Linked DNA regions of Homo sapiens: all the other regions are linked to region 1. Evidence: promoter capture Hi-C in 16 types of primary human blood cells and fetal thymus (Javierre and others, 2016). All regions are on one chromosome and are shown on one strand. Each heading gives the region's core, a stretch centred on a gene start or on the middle of the fragment in contact. The rest is flanking DNA. Distances are from core to core; before and after follow the strand shown.

Region 1 (4,877 bases), core at 1,617-4,116:
ATGGATTGTGATGCATTTACTACTTAAAATTTAGAGGCCAACAAAGAACATCCCATATATAAAGTTGACCTTCAGGACCACCAAAGTCCACCATTTATTAGTGCTTCTTTAACATCCACAATGGCCCTGTCATTTTTCCCCACCTGTCACTACTGCTAGGCAGCCTGTGAGAGTGGGCAGATGTCAAATGGCTCACGTGTAAATGCCAGTGCTGTCAGCCCATCCTCCTAGACATTGTTGTGACTATTAATTTTGTGTCACCTCTCATACTTTCATTTCTGGTTTGTTCTGTGAGAATTTCCTGTTTATGTGTCAGCTTCCCCTACAATGATAGTGAGTTACTTAAGAAAAGGGACTATATATGCTTGGCTGTGTGTCTCCAATGCTAAACATAGCATCTGGAACATAATATGCCCTCCATATGTGTTTATTGTATATGAATGAAAATTCATTGAATACTCACAGAAAATTCATATAAATTTATTGTTATTTAAAGATGCTTAAATCTGTGAGGCTATCACATTATCTGATTTACATTTTTTCAGGTATTTATTTTCCTCTTTCCTTCTATAATTGGTGGTATTTCTCCCTGGGAGAGTGTTTGTGTGCTACGGAGAAATACTGTGGCAAGATGCCATTGAGGCAGGTCCACTATTTGGACTCCTGAAGTGACTTGCTTGGCTTTGCTGCTTACAAAGCCAAAGATAATTATTCATTTTATGTCAGCCTAGACTCTTAGATAGTTGGGAAAGAGTGAGACTTCTTCCAGGCTTAAGGCCATTTTGACATGTTTCACAGAAGATGGTGTGGGGCTGGTGTTGCTAGGGAGGGAAATGGAAAATTAACATAGGTAGAAAAGAAAATAGTCTGTCGTCTTGTGAACTGAGGGGCTTTTTTACTCACTCATTCACCCATCCTGGTGCCAAGATGAAAGTGGTGCAATAGTTCTGCAATTATGGACTCTTGTAACAGCTGTTCAGTTTTAGCTAAATGATGATTTGCATTTTCACCGCACCTTTTCCCCCAAGAGATGAAGGCATTTTACATTCAGTAATAAGGCCTAAGATGAATTGCAACCAACGCAACGTGCTTAGTGTGCTAAACACTCCTGTGGGGGAAAAAATACTGAACATTGCTAATATACCCTTGACCAACACTGGTAAATACACGAGCCCGGGCATGCATTGAGAAAGAGATTAAAATTGTGCAAAACTGCAACAGCAGTACTCTGCCTCCACAGCCGGTGTAATTTGCTTTTTGGACTGCTGGCCCAAAAAAGCTGAAGCTGGCCCACAAAAACAAAAACAAACCCCAGAAACTTAAAGTATCACAGCCAGGTTCACCAAGTAAACACTACTATTTCTAGTTTGCATTTGGATGTTTTCATTCTGTAGATGGCATGGATAAGCTACAAACAACAAACTAAAGTCTACAACGAGAAGGGAGAATTAGAAAATAGGACCGGGTTATCGCTGAGCGTCACAGGTTCTTTTATTTACCTTTGACGATACAACTTACAGATGCTATATGTTTTTAAAAAAAATCCACCGAATATGTCAGGAAACATTTCCTTCGGTCACTTCACCTCCCCTGGCGTCTCAGCCACCTAGACCTACGCTCTGCTTCGCTGTCAGGTCGCCTCGGGCGAGGAGGGTGCAGTAAACAGCGCCCACACAAGAACCCGGGGTGAGGCGGTTTCCCGTCTCTTCGCCAAGGCTCTGTGGATGTGGGTTTCTGAAACTCTACCACTCTTCTCAGCCCCGCTCCTCGCTCAGGCCAGGAAAAAAGAGTGAGAAAACAGCCAGAGCAAAACAGAAAACCATTAAGAAGCCCGGGCCTCCGCGCGCTCACCGCGACAAAACGCGGCGCACGGGGGGCGGGGCCAAGGCGCTGCGTAGGAGCTCCGCCCCGTCACCGCCCCGCCTCCTTCCCCTCACCCCAACCCTCCGCGCCGGGGAGTGACTGACTCCCGCCAGCCCCTCCACGTCAATCAACCCTCCTCGTTCTCGCACTCTCTGCACCTTGTTATTAATCTCAATACCGATATCGCCCGGACGCCTCTCCCCCGGCCCTCGGGGGTGTGAACGTGTGTGAGCGGGAGCGAAGGCACCGAAAGCTGGCGTCTCTGTTCAACCTCGGCCCCAGCAGCACCCGGCGCAGCGGCAACCCCCGCAGCGGCGGCAGCCCCAGCACCAGGAGGCCAAGGCCAAGGCCAGGCTCTGCGTGGCTCTCGGAGCAGTAGCCGCGGCTCCGGCCCTGCGGGGGCGCAGCTTCCTTCGGCTGGGGCCTTCGCGCCGGCGGCCGCGGCCGCGGGGCCTCTCTTGCGCGCCTGGGGTCACTGTCCTCGAAGCCCGGCGGCGCGGCCCTCGTCCCCCTTCCCGACCCCCGGTCTGTCTCCTCGCTCCCTTCAGCCGCCTTCCGCGCCGCCGCCTCTGCCGTTCGTCAGGCGGCCCGGCCCGGCCCGCCCGCCCCGCATCCCCTCCGGCCGGTGCCTCTCCCCTCCGGCGGGCTGCCTGCATGTCTTTGCTGCCCTCAGCCCCGCCGCCACCGCCGCCGCCGCCTCCCCCGCCGCCGCAGCACCAGCACCAGCCGCCCCGTCGCCGCCGCCGCCGCCGCCGCCCGGACCCCGGCGCGCTGAATGCAGGTGAGGAGGGGGCGCGGGCCCCCCGAGACCCCGGGCCCGGGTTCCCTGCGCGCCCGCCCGCGAGCCCCGGTTACGGGCCCTGTGTGCCGCCGCGGCTTCCCCTCGGGGCGGGCGGGAGCGAGGCCCGCCGTGGGTGTTTGTGTTTGCGTCTGCGTCTGCGGCCGCGGCTCTGGAGGGGAAGCATCTGTGGGGGCCTGGTGCGCGCGCGCGCGCGTGTTTGTGTGTGTGTTTCCCCTGCCGCGGGGAAATGGCTGCTGTTGCTTCTGGGCCAGAGGAAGAGAATGAGGTAGAGTGTTCTTTTGCCTCCGAGTAGGACCGAGAGTGTTGGGAAGAGGAGCGCGTCCCCGGGGAAATGAGGTGGGAGAGGGACAAATGTGCGTGTGGGTGTGCGAGTTGGGACTTTGGCGGGCGGGGAGGCGGCCCGAGGACCCACGGCGAGTGGGTGTGTGTCGGGTGACTGGAGGGGGCGGCGGGGCTGACCCGCGTCTCTTCAGAGGCGGGCGAAGGTTCCGGGGTGTGTGTGTGTGTGTGTGTGTGTGTCGGGGGTGGCCCGGGGCCGGGACCCCAGAGTGGCGTGTCCCTCCCGCTTTGTGGCTGCGGCTCCCGAGCCTCGCAGGTGAGAGCTGCTCCTAGGGGGCCGGCCGGGGAGGGCTGAGTGAGTGCGGCACACGCGCGGCAGCGGGGCTGGGAGAGCTGCTGGTCGGTGCCGCGCCGCTGATCCCGGGGCCGCCGTTCCCCGGCCGCGGCAGGAAGCGCGCCGGCCTGCAGCGCGGCCTAACTGCCTGGGCGCCCGCCCACCTCCCCGGACGCCTCCCGGGACGGCGAGCCCGCGCGAGCCCACGGCGCTGCCTCGGGCCTGGGCAGGTGAGGGTCGGAGGCGGGACTCGCCGATTGCCGTCGCCGTGGCCGCCTCCGCGTCTCCTGAGAGGCGAAGGCTTATTTTGGCGTTCCAACTGCAAGCCTTCGCCCGGCCGGCTGTGGGACCCGAGGGAGGAAAGTGAATCAGAACAGTCAGTCTTGGGAATACGCGGTGTCGTGTTCCCTTCTTTTCATCCTTCCCCTAAGGCTGTGTGGAGGGACTGAGTAAATATTTTGGATTTTTGTTGCAAATACTTTGCCGTTGGTAAGATTTTTTTTTTTTTAATTAGACAAACATTTTCTTGGAAGGGCTGAGGAAGAAAGGGAAACTGGCTTTCCTGGCCTGTGGGATTGGATGGATTTTGTGCATTTGAAATTGTTTTATCCTGCCTCCTAGGGGGAGAGGCGTGTACGCGCCGCCGAGCTGAGGAGCTGGGTGAGGAAGAGGAAGTTACTGGAGCTGTCATCCTGCTTAACTCGGTCGGCTATTGAGCTTAGACTGTTTAGGTGGATTGTGTTCAGGGAGTTTAGCTGAGCCGTTTGTACACATTGGAAGCACAGTGTTACATTTTACCGTATTGCCTCTAGTTATCTTGTCAATCAAGATAGGCTCAACAAACATGTTTTCCTCAGTCTCCAAAAACTAGATCAAGCAACCTCTGTTGTCTACTCAGTATGTGCTGCTGGAAAGCTATTTTGAGAATAGCCTAAGCAAAACCCAGTTGTAAAGATAAACCTGCTGCCAATAGGTCTACAGTACATTTCAGAACCAAATACAAATGGCATTTGGATAATTATTTGCTAATGTGCTTTTCTACTCCAACCTCATTACATTTGTATGTAGTTAGATCATTTAGCTAGAACCGTGCTGTGGATAAAAGCATAATACAGTTTCGATCCTTGTAGGCCGTACTCTGTGTCATGGCCAGAGATTGCTCTTTGCACCTGGTCTCACAAAGAAATAGTGTATGCTGTTCACGGGGAAGTGGAGGGAAGAGAAGGAGGGGCGAAGAGCTGTTCTCTATTACCACTACTGGAAAAACAATTTAACATACGTAGTTAGTGGGAAAAGGACTTGTTTTACAGACTTCAGTTAGCCTCCCAGCTGTGTGATTTTTCCTTAGCTGTTTGACCTTAGGTAACATATCTATAAGCCACAGTTTTATCAGTCACAGAGAGCTAATACCTTTATAGTAAGGTCGTTTTGAGAATAGAATGAGAAAACATATGTTTGGCATGTAGTAGATGCTTAGTTAAATTTTAGTTCTGCCTCCTGCAGCCCTGACTATGGGCATTGAAGAACCTTTGCAAACACAAATATGATTAATTATTTAGAGCAATATTAAGTAACTATAACGTAAAAAAGACAATGGAA
Region 2 (4,877 bases), core at 1,246-3,745, 870 kb after region 1:
GGAGGGCCAGAGAACTCTTAACTTTAAAGGTGCAGTGTAGATTCCATGGAGCTGTGTCTCAAGAGTCTTCCCCATTCATTGACTTTGTTTTAAAGCCATAACTGCAGAGACCACACTTAAGACAATAGCCCAATGAACAAAGTGAAAGGATTCAACAATTATCTGTGAAATGTGATCACATATTTTCTGTAGACTTTCTAACTTTATAGTCAATTCCTAATCACTCGTACATTAGGTTTCCAAAAGAAAAGTCTTCTGTCTTTAGATTGTAATTTAATTTTAATTCCAGTGACAACAGAGTGCGCAGAAAGAAGTCACTTCCTCTGTGCACGTATACTTAAAAAAAATCTCCTCTATTATCTGAAGAGGGAGGTCTAACATAAGAATTCTGTGGGATTAAGCTCACATATGGTTGGCCGACTTGGTGTTGGATGTGATTACGGCCACACAACTAAACCTTAAATCCACATACTGTTCCTATTTAACTGACATATATGAACTAATTTATAGAAAATGTGCAGCTAATTATTTCTTCCACCTCCTCCATCCCTCAAGAATGCACCAGCAATAATACGTGTTACTGAAAAAGCCAAACACCCCCACTGAATATTTGCAATCCTAAACGTTTGCCAATTTATCTAAAGCAGATATTGTTATTTTAGTTCTCTGAATCTATGCCTGCTAATAAGTATAATGGGGGGCAGGGGGAGGAGTAATTTAACCAGATAAATTTCACCTCTATAGACCTCAATTTTCTCACCAAAAATAAAACGACTAGCCCAGAGACTATGCAAATTCCCTCAGTAACAATAACCTACATGTGACCACTAATTATCAAGAGCACAATTTATGTGCAAAAGAAGACCAGAATTCTTAAAAGAGCCATGTCATTAAATCGTAGAGTTGAAAAGGCCTAAAAGACAGTCATGATTCGATATGACCGCTGTGTTTTCTGACTGCAGAAAACGTCTTTGAAAGCACCGCGGGCAGCCGAACCACCAAATCGAATTAGAATCCGCAAAGGGACCCATGAACTTCTCCCGAGGGGGTAGGGTGCAAAAGGCGCGCGTATCTGGGGAGGAGTTAGGCGGGGAGAGGGGGAAGAGCCGGGAGCCTGAGAGCACAGCCTTGCATTTCTGGGATTTCCGAGCTTCCAGTATCTCAGTAAGTCTTTCGTCTGTAACTACAAAATCTCCCGAGCCACCACCTGCAGCTGCACAGCTGTGGGAAAGGGAAGAAGAAAAAGGGAAGAGGAGGTGATAGACAGGGAAAGACATCGCCCGAGGCGCCCCCAAAGCCAGTAAGGCGAGTGGACTGTGAACATCGACGATGAAAAGGGGAAAGGGAAAACAGGAGGACTCCGCCTTTCCCACCCAGCTCCGCTCCTTTCAAAAAAAAGGAAAGGCCGCCGCCGCCCCTTCCTCCGCCTTTCACTTGGGGATGCGGAGCGGCCACTGAACCGCACCCTCGGAGTCCCGCTCCCCTCCGGCCCGGCCCCGGGGCGCGGACCGAGTCTTGCAACCCAGTAGGCGCGGCGCCTTGGCCCACACACTCGGGGCAAAGGTATCTCCTCCCTCCTACTCTCCTCCCTCCCGCCGTGGGGCACTCGATTCTTCACGCACCCGCCCGCCCTTCCTCTTCCTCGCGTCCCAGCCTCCTCAGCCCGCCGCCCCCGGCCTTTCAGCCGCAGAACATTTCAGTCCTTCCACCCACACCACAAGGGAGCCTCCAGAAAACTTTGTGTGTGTTATCTGGGGCTTTGTCCACATCCTGGGCAGGGCCCGCTCAGCCGGGTGGATGCCCGAGGGTGTCCGGGATCTCACAATGCGCTGGGGAGGCCACCACGGAAATCCCACCCCTCTGACCTGCTTCTACAGCAGTGCCACACGCAGCACTTCAGCTCGCAATTCCCATGCCCTGAGCGCCCCCTCGGCGCGGGGGAGACTGGAGGAAAGCCCCGAACCCGGCGCCCTTCTGGCTGTCACGAGGGAAGAGGTGCGCGGGCAGAGGGAGGCGGCTGAGACACGCCGCGCCTCAAAGAATTATTTTAAAGGGAACAGGAGAGGGGTCCTTTTTCTTTCGCATTCCCAGAAGAGGGGCGCGACGAGGCGATCCACTGTTGCATCACGTAACTGAGCCCCTGGGCTCCTAACCCCGACCCCAGACGCGCGCCCAAATTCGTGCACACACCCACAGCCGTCGCCGCCGCCGCGGGGCCGAGCACCCGCCCGGCTCCCCTGTGGTCCTCACCGCACCCGCCCCAGAGCAGAGACCACCCGGCGCCCGAGGAGCAGCAGGCGAGGCCCCAGCACTCACAGACGGTCTCCCCACGGCCACGGCCATCGCAGCTGCGGCACCGGCTCCGGCTGCGCCCGGGTGCTTTACGCCGACTCCGGCTGCTGCTAGTGCTCGGGCTCCGGCTCGCCTCCCTCGCGCCTCCCTCGCGGCTGCGCTCTGCTCGCCGGCGTCCCGCTGGCAGCCAGCGGCATCTGCTCCCCCCACGCCGCCGCCCCTCCCGCTTTATTAGAGCAACATGGCCACCCGCCTGGAAGGGACCATTCGCTTCCCCAGGAAGGGGTGTGAGCCTGCGCGCCCGGCCGCGGTGGTGGGCGGGAGGATGGTGGGCGGGCTCCGAGCCCAGCTCCACTGGCCCCGGCCGCGGGGCTCGCCCCTCCGTCCCCAAACGACCGTCTCCGCTGCCATGAGATGCCGACAGCCTGTGCGCTGGCCGCCACCCCCTGCTCCATCAGGTGCTGGAATCTGAGTAAAAGCCTGGGCGCGAGCTCCCAGCCCCGGGGCCTGCCACCGGCTCCACGAAGCGGGCAGCTCCAGCGGCCGCCGGGAGAAGGAAGGGCGACCGGGGGAGACGGGTCGCAGGGACAGCACGTGGCGGAAAGTTAGCCCCGGACTAGCACGCCCCACCCGGAGAAGCCGGCCTGGAAGGGGCTGCGGACCACCAGGCGGAGCGGTGGGCGACCGAAGTGCGGCTGGGCTGGCCTCCTCGTCTCCGCACTGGAAGAATTGCCCTTCCGCAAGTCTTCCCTTCCCACATGGGGGCCCTCCAGGCCGCACCTCGGTCGCCCACCGCTTCCCTTGAGAAGGGAGACTAAAGACAGGCATCTGGAAGCTGTCACTGTGGCGCGCGGGCAGACAGGGGATCCCATTGGAGAGGAAGAGCCGTAGTAGTCGCTGCTGCCTTCGGCCGACCCAACGGCCGCCTGCTTGGGAGGAAGAAAAAGAACGCCCCCGCTGAAGAATTAAGGCAGCCATTGGTTGCTCTAGGGGTAAGGACCGAGGCCTCCCCTGGGTGTCACTGGAGCAGCCACACGTGGGGGATCAGCCGACTTCATTCGATCGCTGGCGACAGACCCGGCGACCCGTAGGAATGCGCGCTGGGGCTGCGGCTGGAGGGCGTGGCGACGGCAACAGGCGGGTGGCTCGAGTGGGTGCGACTCTGGGCGCGTGGGACTGAGAACTCCTCCGCCGTGGGGAAGATTTTTTTCCCAGCAGATGTTGGGGTGTTACTGCGTGTCTGAGGGGCCGGCGGAATGGAGGGGTCCCGGTGCGTGCAGGGCAGCGAGGTGTGTCAGATGAGCTGTGGATCCCTGCGGCCCCACGTGGGCCGGAGAGGGGGGCCCACGACAACAAGCGATTGAGGACAGCGATGGACAGGGCGGGGAACCAGCTGGGTGGAAGCACAGGGAGTGTGGTGAGGAGGGAAGGGCTGTGATCTGCCCTCGGTACGACGCCCCAAGGGACAGCCTGGCCTCCTGAATTAGGGAAAAGACAACCGGTCTCTTTAGACGGGCGCCTCAGAGTCTGACCTGAGTCTTCAAACGCCCAGATCCCCTGGGGCCTTGAGTCTCCCTGTCCCGCTGGCCCTGCCTCGCCTGCGCTTCAGGACTCCGACGCCCCCGCAGCCTTGGGCTAAGGGTCAGTCGTCCCCGGGCGCGGGTCCGGCTGCCCTGGAACTGATGCTGGATTTCGCTGGTAGGTGGGCTAGGGGCTTGGTCACCCCGTCTGAATTCCACTGTCAGGACAGCTGTGGAACCGCCAGAGAAAAGTCTGGCCATGAAAGAAAGGTGAGGGGCGCCGACGCAGAGCTTATTTATTCAGTCTGTGGGCGGACTCAGACGTGCAGAGCACCAACCTCTTCAATTTCTGCCCTCTAGACTCCAAATCTTTTGAAATTAGGGACCACCATTTTATGCCAAACATACAGTAGGCGCTCAATAAGTGTTGAATTAAGATTACACATAAATGGGCCGGGCGCGGTGGCTCACGCCTGTAATCCCAGCACCTTGGGAGGCTGAGGTGGGCCAACATGGTGAAACCTTGGCTCTAAAAAAATGCAAAAATTAGCCAGGCATGGTGGCGCTTGCCTGTAGTCCCAGCTACTATAGAGGCTGAGGTGGGAGAGTCGCTTGAACTCTGGAGGCGGAGGTTGCAGTGAGCCGAGATCGCGCCACTACACTCCAGTCTGGGTGACGCAGTGAGACCCTGTCTCAAAAAATATATAATAATAAGATTACACACAGATGGGTGCTGTGCAAAGGGAGGGGGAAGACAAATACTTTCTTCTGCAGCTCTGGTACATGGACATTTTGTCCTTTCTCCATAAGGAGGATCAGACAGCAGCAGCACTGCCCATGGACCAGAGGCCTCATGTAAGGCCTGGGAAAAGAGGGCTCCACACACCACCAACCGGATGTAAGGGCAGTTGCAAAGGAACTGTGTTATCTTGACCAGAACAGACTGTAGAATTTGTTTATCAAATTTTTTTTTTTTACTTATTTATTTTGTGAATGTATATGCTGTAAACTCATCTGCTTAGATTGTAAGAATGTGAATGCCCTACCTTGGTGGGTAGGTTAGTT
Region 3 (4,877 bases), core at 1,389-3,888, 800 kb before region 1:
CTCAATGCTGTGACTCACCAGATTCCATCCTCACTTCCCAAGCTTACTTCAGCAGCGGACTCAGTCCTGCTCCTCTGCCCTGCCCTTTGCCATAATCTATATTGACTCTGGAATCCACATTAACCTTTTAGATTCCTTTACCCCAGAGGTATTTCCTGGGTTGAAGACCTCCACCTTTGACCTGCCTTAGTCAGTGTCGTTAACACTCAGGGTAATCTCTGTTTCTGAGATCTATTATCCCATTTGCAGCCACAGCCTGTCATCTCCTTCACCCCACCCAGGAAGCCCATCTCTAGCTTCCCTGGAACCTCTCCTGCGTCACATGATCTATCCCATTTCATTCACTAATTCTATTTGCCTTCACTGCTTCCTGCCTTGCTTACTAGAATCATAGACTCCCTGTGTGCCCCTAAATTCTGGACTTCACTTCCAAAGAACCCATGGAAATAAATGTAAAGTAGTAATAAGGTGGCAATGTGGTAGATAAAATTAGATGGGATTTCCTCCTCCTCTTCTTATTGCTCCTATTCTTCATCTTCCTCTCATTCGTTTTCGTTTGTGTTTCCAGGTAACTGTGCTTTGAAGAAAGAGGTGGAACTTTGAAGCTGTGGCTCATTTCCTTCCCAGAGCCATCTAACTTGAGCCACCCCAGTGCTCCTCCTACCTCTCCATTTCACTTCCAAAACACTTGGTGACTCCCTAGCACGCCAACACAGAGAATCACTGTTCTAGAGGATTTCTACCCTAAAAGCCTCCGTTTTCTTCTCTCAACTCCTCCACCCTGTAACCCCACAAAGTTACACACAGTTACACCTCCTACTTTATAGTGACTACTGAAAATAGTCCTTCCTATTTTGGGATGTGTCCCTCCAGAAACAGATGCTGAGAAAAGGATCCAGGGATCCCAGGAAGCACTGGGAAGTGAGTGCAGAAGTGAGACAGAAAAAGAAAGAAAGCCGGTACAGGGTGTGTTGTGAGTCAGTTGTCACTGCGGGCAGCTGGGGCTCAGACTTCCTGGGGGTCTCAGGGGCAGCATAGATCATGCCTCAGAGTTGTCTCACTTGGGAGGCAAGAGCCTGTGGTATTTATCCATGGCCTCCATCTGTCACTGGTTGAGAGCCACCCCAGGGGTGTTACTCCCTGACACTTCTGTTCTGACCCAAGTGTGGTCAGCTCCCACAGACAGATAAAGGCTGCAGCAGGGTCACCGGCACTTGCAGTAAGGAGAGTCAGAACGTAGGAAATGCTGAGTGTCAGGGACATCTATGGAGCACCAAGAACCTTCTATGTTTCCTATCTAACTAGCTTTACTGTAAATGTAACTATCCCTGTTTCTAGCTTCCTATCCTTTTATTCATTGTCTTAGGTATTCTTGGATGTATCATTTTAATTTAATCTTCTTGACCATAGAAGTTGGCATTATCTCAATTTTATAGAAGAAGAAACTGAGAAATTAAGAGTAAGCAACTTCACAAAAATTACCAAGCTAGTAAGTTCTGGAACTGTTATTTAAAGTCTCAAAAATCCAAGTATTTTCTAGTGGAGCAGAAATGCAAGGGCAGAACCTTGGGACCACCCATCATTATTAGCAATGTCCTGGGTAATAAGAGATGGGTTCAGAGTAGAAATAGAGGGGTTATGTCAGAGAAGGGAAAAAACTCTTCATCTAAGACTGGTTTTGACCCTGTTCCCTGATTCAATTACTATTGACACAGCACACTAAAGCTTAGTAGGCCAGAATCTTACTGTTTCTCCCAGAGGCCCTTATATAATTTCTAAGAACAAAGATCAGATAAAATGCAATTTGCAGAATAAGTGATGTCTGGCATATAATAAGTACTCAATTTAATTTAACAATTATGTATTGATAATCTAATATGTGCCAGGCGTTGGACTAGATGCTAAGAATGATGGTGGACCACAAATATTGACTGACAGAGGCAGGAGTTCGCTTTTGAATATGAAATATATACCCCACATTCTCAAACTAACTAATTATACATAACCATCAACTAACAATGGCCACTTTCACAGTTAAGACGAACCTAGTACTCAATAGTTTTCTCAGATCTGCCTTGACTTATTTTCATTTAACATTTAACAACAGCAGATAATGTTGACGTGAAAAGAGCACACTAAACATAGGATTGCTGTGAGGATTAAATGAAATAAGTGCCAAATCCCAGGCATTTAATATAATTGATCATTCTTATCTTTATTATAGACTGTAAGTTCCATGAAAACAGGCACTGAATTTTTTTTTCTTTTTTTTGAGATGGAGTCTCGCTCTGTCACCCAGGCTAGAGTGCAGTGGCATTATCTAGGCTCACTGCAACCTCTGCCTCCCAGGTTCAAGCAATTCTCCTGCCTCAGCCTCTTGAGTAGCTGGGATTACTAGTGTGCGCCACCATGCCCGGCTAATTTTTGTATTTTTAGTAGAGACTGGGTTTCACCATGTTGGTCAGGCTGGTCACGAACTCTTGACTTCAAGTGATTCATCCGCCTCGGCCTCCCAAAGTGCTGAGATTACAGGCTTGAGCCACCGCGCCCAGCCGAACAGGTAGTAAATTTTTACATGTATATGCAGCTTTTAGAGTAGTGTTTAGTACACAGTAGGCTTTCAGTTCACATTGATAGGCTAAATGAGTAATATGGATATTATTACTCCAATTTCTCAGATGAAATTAATACTCAGAGAGATTGAATAAGCTGCTCACTTTCTCAAAGCTAGTTGCTGTAAGAGTTAGGATAAATGACCTATTTCTTTTTTTTTTATCCTATGTACAGTCATTCCTAATAAATAACGTACTTCTAACTCCACTGTGCCCTAAGGGCTTCTCTAAAGCATGTAGCGTGACGCTGAGCACACAGTAGTTCTTCAACAGTTGCCACTATTGCTGTGTGTCACCGGTCAGCGGTGTGTTATTAGTTCATTACTGTCTTATGATAAACTTCTCCATTGGCTTGCAGGTACAGAGAGCAACTCTGCTGCTTCTCCTCCGGAGTGCGGCATCATCTTCCTGCTCTTCCTTCCATTTGCTCTGTTGGCTCCTACTCCCCTTCCACTGAAGTAACTGTAGCTTTCCCCAGGGCTTAGGCCCAGGCCCTACTGAACCTCTATTTCTGTGTGTTTGTCTGCACGTCTGCAATCACTTCAACTCAAACTGCACCCACCAACGACATGACCCTTAGAAGCTGCCAAATCCTCGTTGCTGAATGGTTTCAGTACTGCTACTGCTGGAGAAAAAGAAGAAAAATTCACATCCTTCCCCCCAAAAAAGAAAGGGGGAAACATGGAACCAGGGAAATTCTGTAAGTAATGGTGAACTGTTTATTCAGGGCTCCAACTCTGCCCTTGCACATGTGCCCCGCTGTGGCACAGTCTATAGTTTTGAACTTCGGATAGTACAGTGCTCAGCAAGTGAAGATATTACCTTCTGGTCTGAGAGCCTCCTGACCAGTCTTGTCAGATTGAAAGATACTGACTTGGCTCTATCAAGGTGGCTTCTGTCCTGTACTAGATGACTTTATATTATTGATATGTAAGCTTCTGAGAGACTTATTTAGACTTCAGTATTACTGACCGTTAGATGCCAGTGATGTGTGGTGAAGTTGCTCAGTGTGTGAAGTCAGAGAATTTATGAGACACCCAAGTGTTCAGACCTACCTCCCAACCCCAGAGCCCAAGAAACGGGCCTCTAAAGTAAAGAGCTTTGTAACTGTTGCTACTGCTGTATCATGGTCCCAGCGTGAGAGAGTCAAGCGTATAGATTTTGGATCTACTGTATAGAAATCTCAGTTTGTTTTGTGGCTCCAGAACTATATCTAGAGTGGTCTTAACGTTTCTGAGCCTCTTTCCAGACTAGTAAATTGAGATAAGGTTACCTGCCTCATGGTGTTGTTATAAAGTCAAAATGAGACAAAATATATGAATTGCTCATAGTGAGTGTTAAGAAATGGTGCTTATTATTATTGAAACAAGAGGACCTCTGAAAGAATGCAAGTCAATGCCTACTGGCTCTTCAGGTCGGTTGGCTGAGAAGAGCATGTGAGGTTATAAAGCCACAGTCCAAAGGGAGCTGAATTCTCTCTGCCTGCACAGAGAGGTCAAGAATGTGGTGCAGTTGGTTAAGTTGTGAAAGTTCCACATGATTATACAGAATTTGCAGTCCTTTGTCAATTTTCCCATAATGACTAAGTCTTTCAAAATAAAAAAGACCTTATGCATATACTTGATAACAGCAAAAGAGACTGGGAAATTGGGGAAAGATGTAAATAATAGCCAATGACTACATATTTCAGATATTGTGCTAATTCCTTTACTTGTGTTTCCTCATCTAATTCCTTGTATCTTCCATGACAGATCTAAGCATTCCATCCTTCCTGGCACCTGGGTCTTCCTGGCACTATGAATTGATAAATTATTACTCCTATCTTAGAAACAAAAGGAAATGATGGATCAGCGAGGCTAAGTAATTTGCCGAAAGTTACACGGCAAGTTGGTGGTACTGAAACCAACATTGTATGGCTCTGGCATCTTTCCTTCACATCTAGGAAAGGGAAGGCCAGGGGGCCTGTTTTTCCTGAAGAAAGAAGACAGGACCATCACACTGAGGAAGCCAAGAAAAGCAGTGCAGGAAAAGCCGGGCAAGTGCAGTGTTCCCAGAGACGTAACCAGAGAAAGATCTGTGAAGTTTCCTCACAGGGACTTTCTCTGGGTGGATTCTAGATTCTGGGAAGCCGTGGGCCTCCCAAGAAGTTTTTGGCAGCACCTGGTCCAGCCAAACTACATATTCAATACCCAGAAGAGAGAGAGAGGAGAAAATCAAGAATGGACAGTTTGTTGCCTGGTGGCCAGGGAAGGTCCCCATATTGAA

What was found. The method cuts DNA at HindIII sites, captures the fragments that hold promoters and counts their contacts. A CHiCAGO score of 5 or more calls a contact.
Region 2: a contact is called between the fragment with the promoter of SEPTIN11 here and the fragment with the promoter of CNOT6L in region 1, in 1 of 17 cell types (naive CD8 T cells). The highest score is 7.7, in naive CD8 T cells.
Region 3: a contact is called between a fragment that was not itself captured here and the fragment with the promoter of CNOT6L in region 1, in 1 of 17 cell types (total B cells). The highest score is 5.1, in total B cells.

Annotation. Positions count from the first base shown.
Region 1 is chr4:77,817,357-77,822,233 of GRCh38, reverse strand. It overlaps CNOT6L (CCR4-NOT transcription complex subunit 6 like), which reads left to right and starts at 2,866. Exons shown (of 12, transcript NM_144571.3): 1 at 2,866-2,930. The coding sequence starts at 2,926. RefSeq lists an enhancer at 327-376 and silencers at 1,820-1,969, 2,230-2,389, 2,430-2,529, 3,020-3,089, 3,170-3,569. The HindIII fragment of the contact is 6,822 bases long and covers 1-4,877 here.
Region 2 is chr4:76,947,370-76,952,246 of GRCh38, reverse strand. SEPTIN11 (septin 11) reads right to left here and starts at 2,495. Exons shown (of 10, transcript NM_018243.4): 1 at 2,317-2,495. The coding sequence starts at 2,343. It overlaps LOC105377294 (a long non-coding RNA gene), which reads left to right and starts at 2,682. Exons shown (of 3, transcript XR_001741739.2): 1 at 2,682-3,284. RefSeq lists silencers at 2,201-2,510, 2,541-2,720 and an enhancer at 3,631-3,710. The HindIII fragment of the contact is 7,046 bases long and covers 1-4,877 here.
Region 3 is chr4:78,617,860-78,622,736 of GRCh38, reverse strand. All of the region lies in intron 1 of LOC124900721 (a long non-coding RNA gene), which reads right to left. Among named protein-coding and RNA genes, the nearest start is that of LINC01094, 26 kb to the left of the region's middle. The HindIII fragment of the contact is 1,822 bases long and covers 1,728-3,549 here.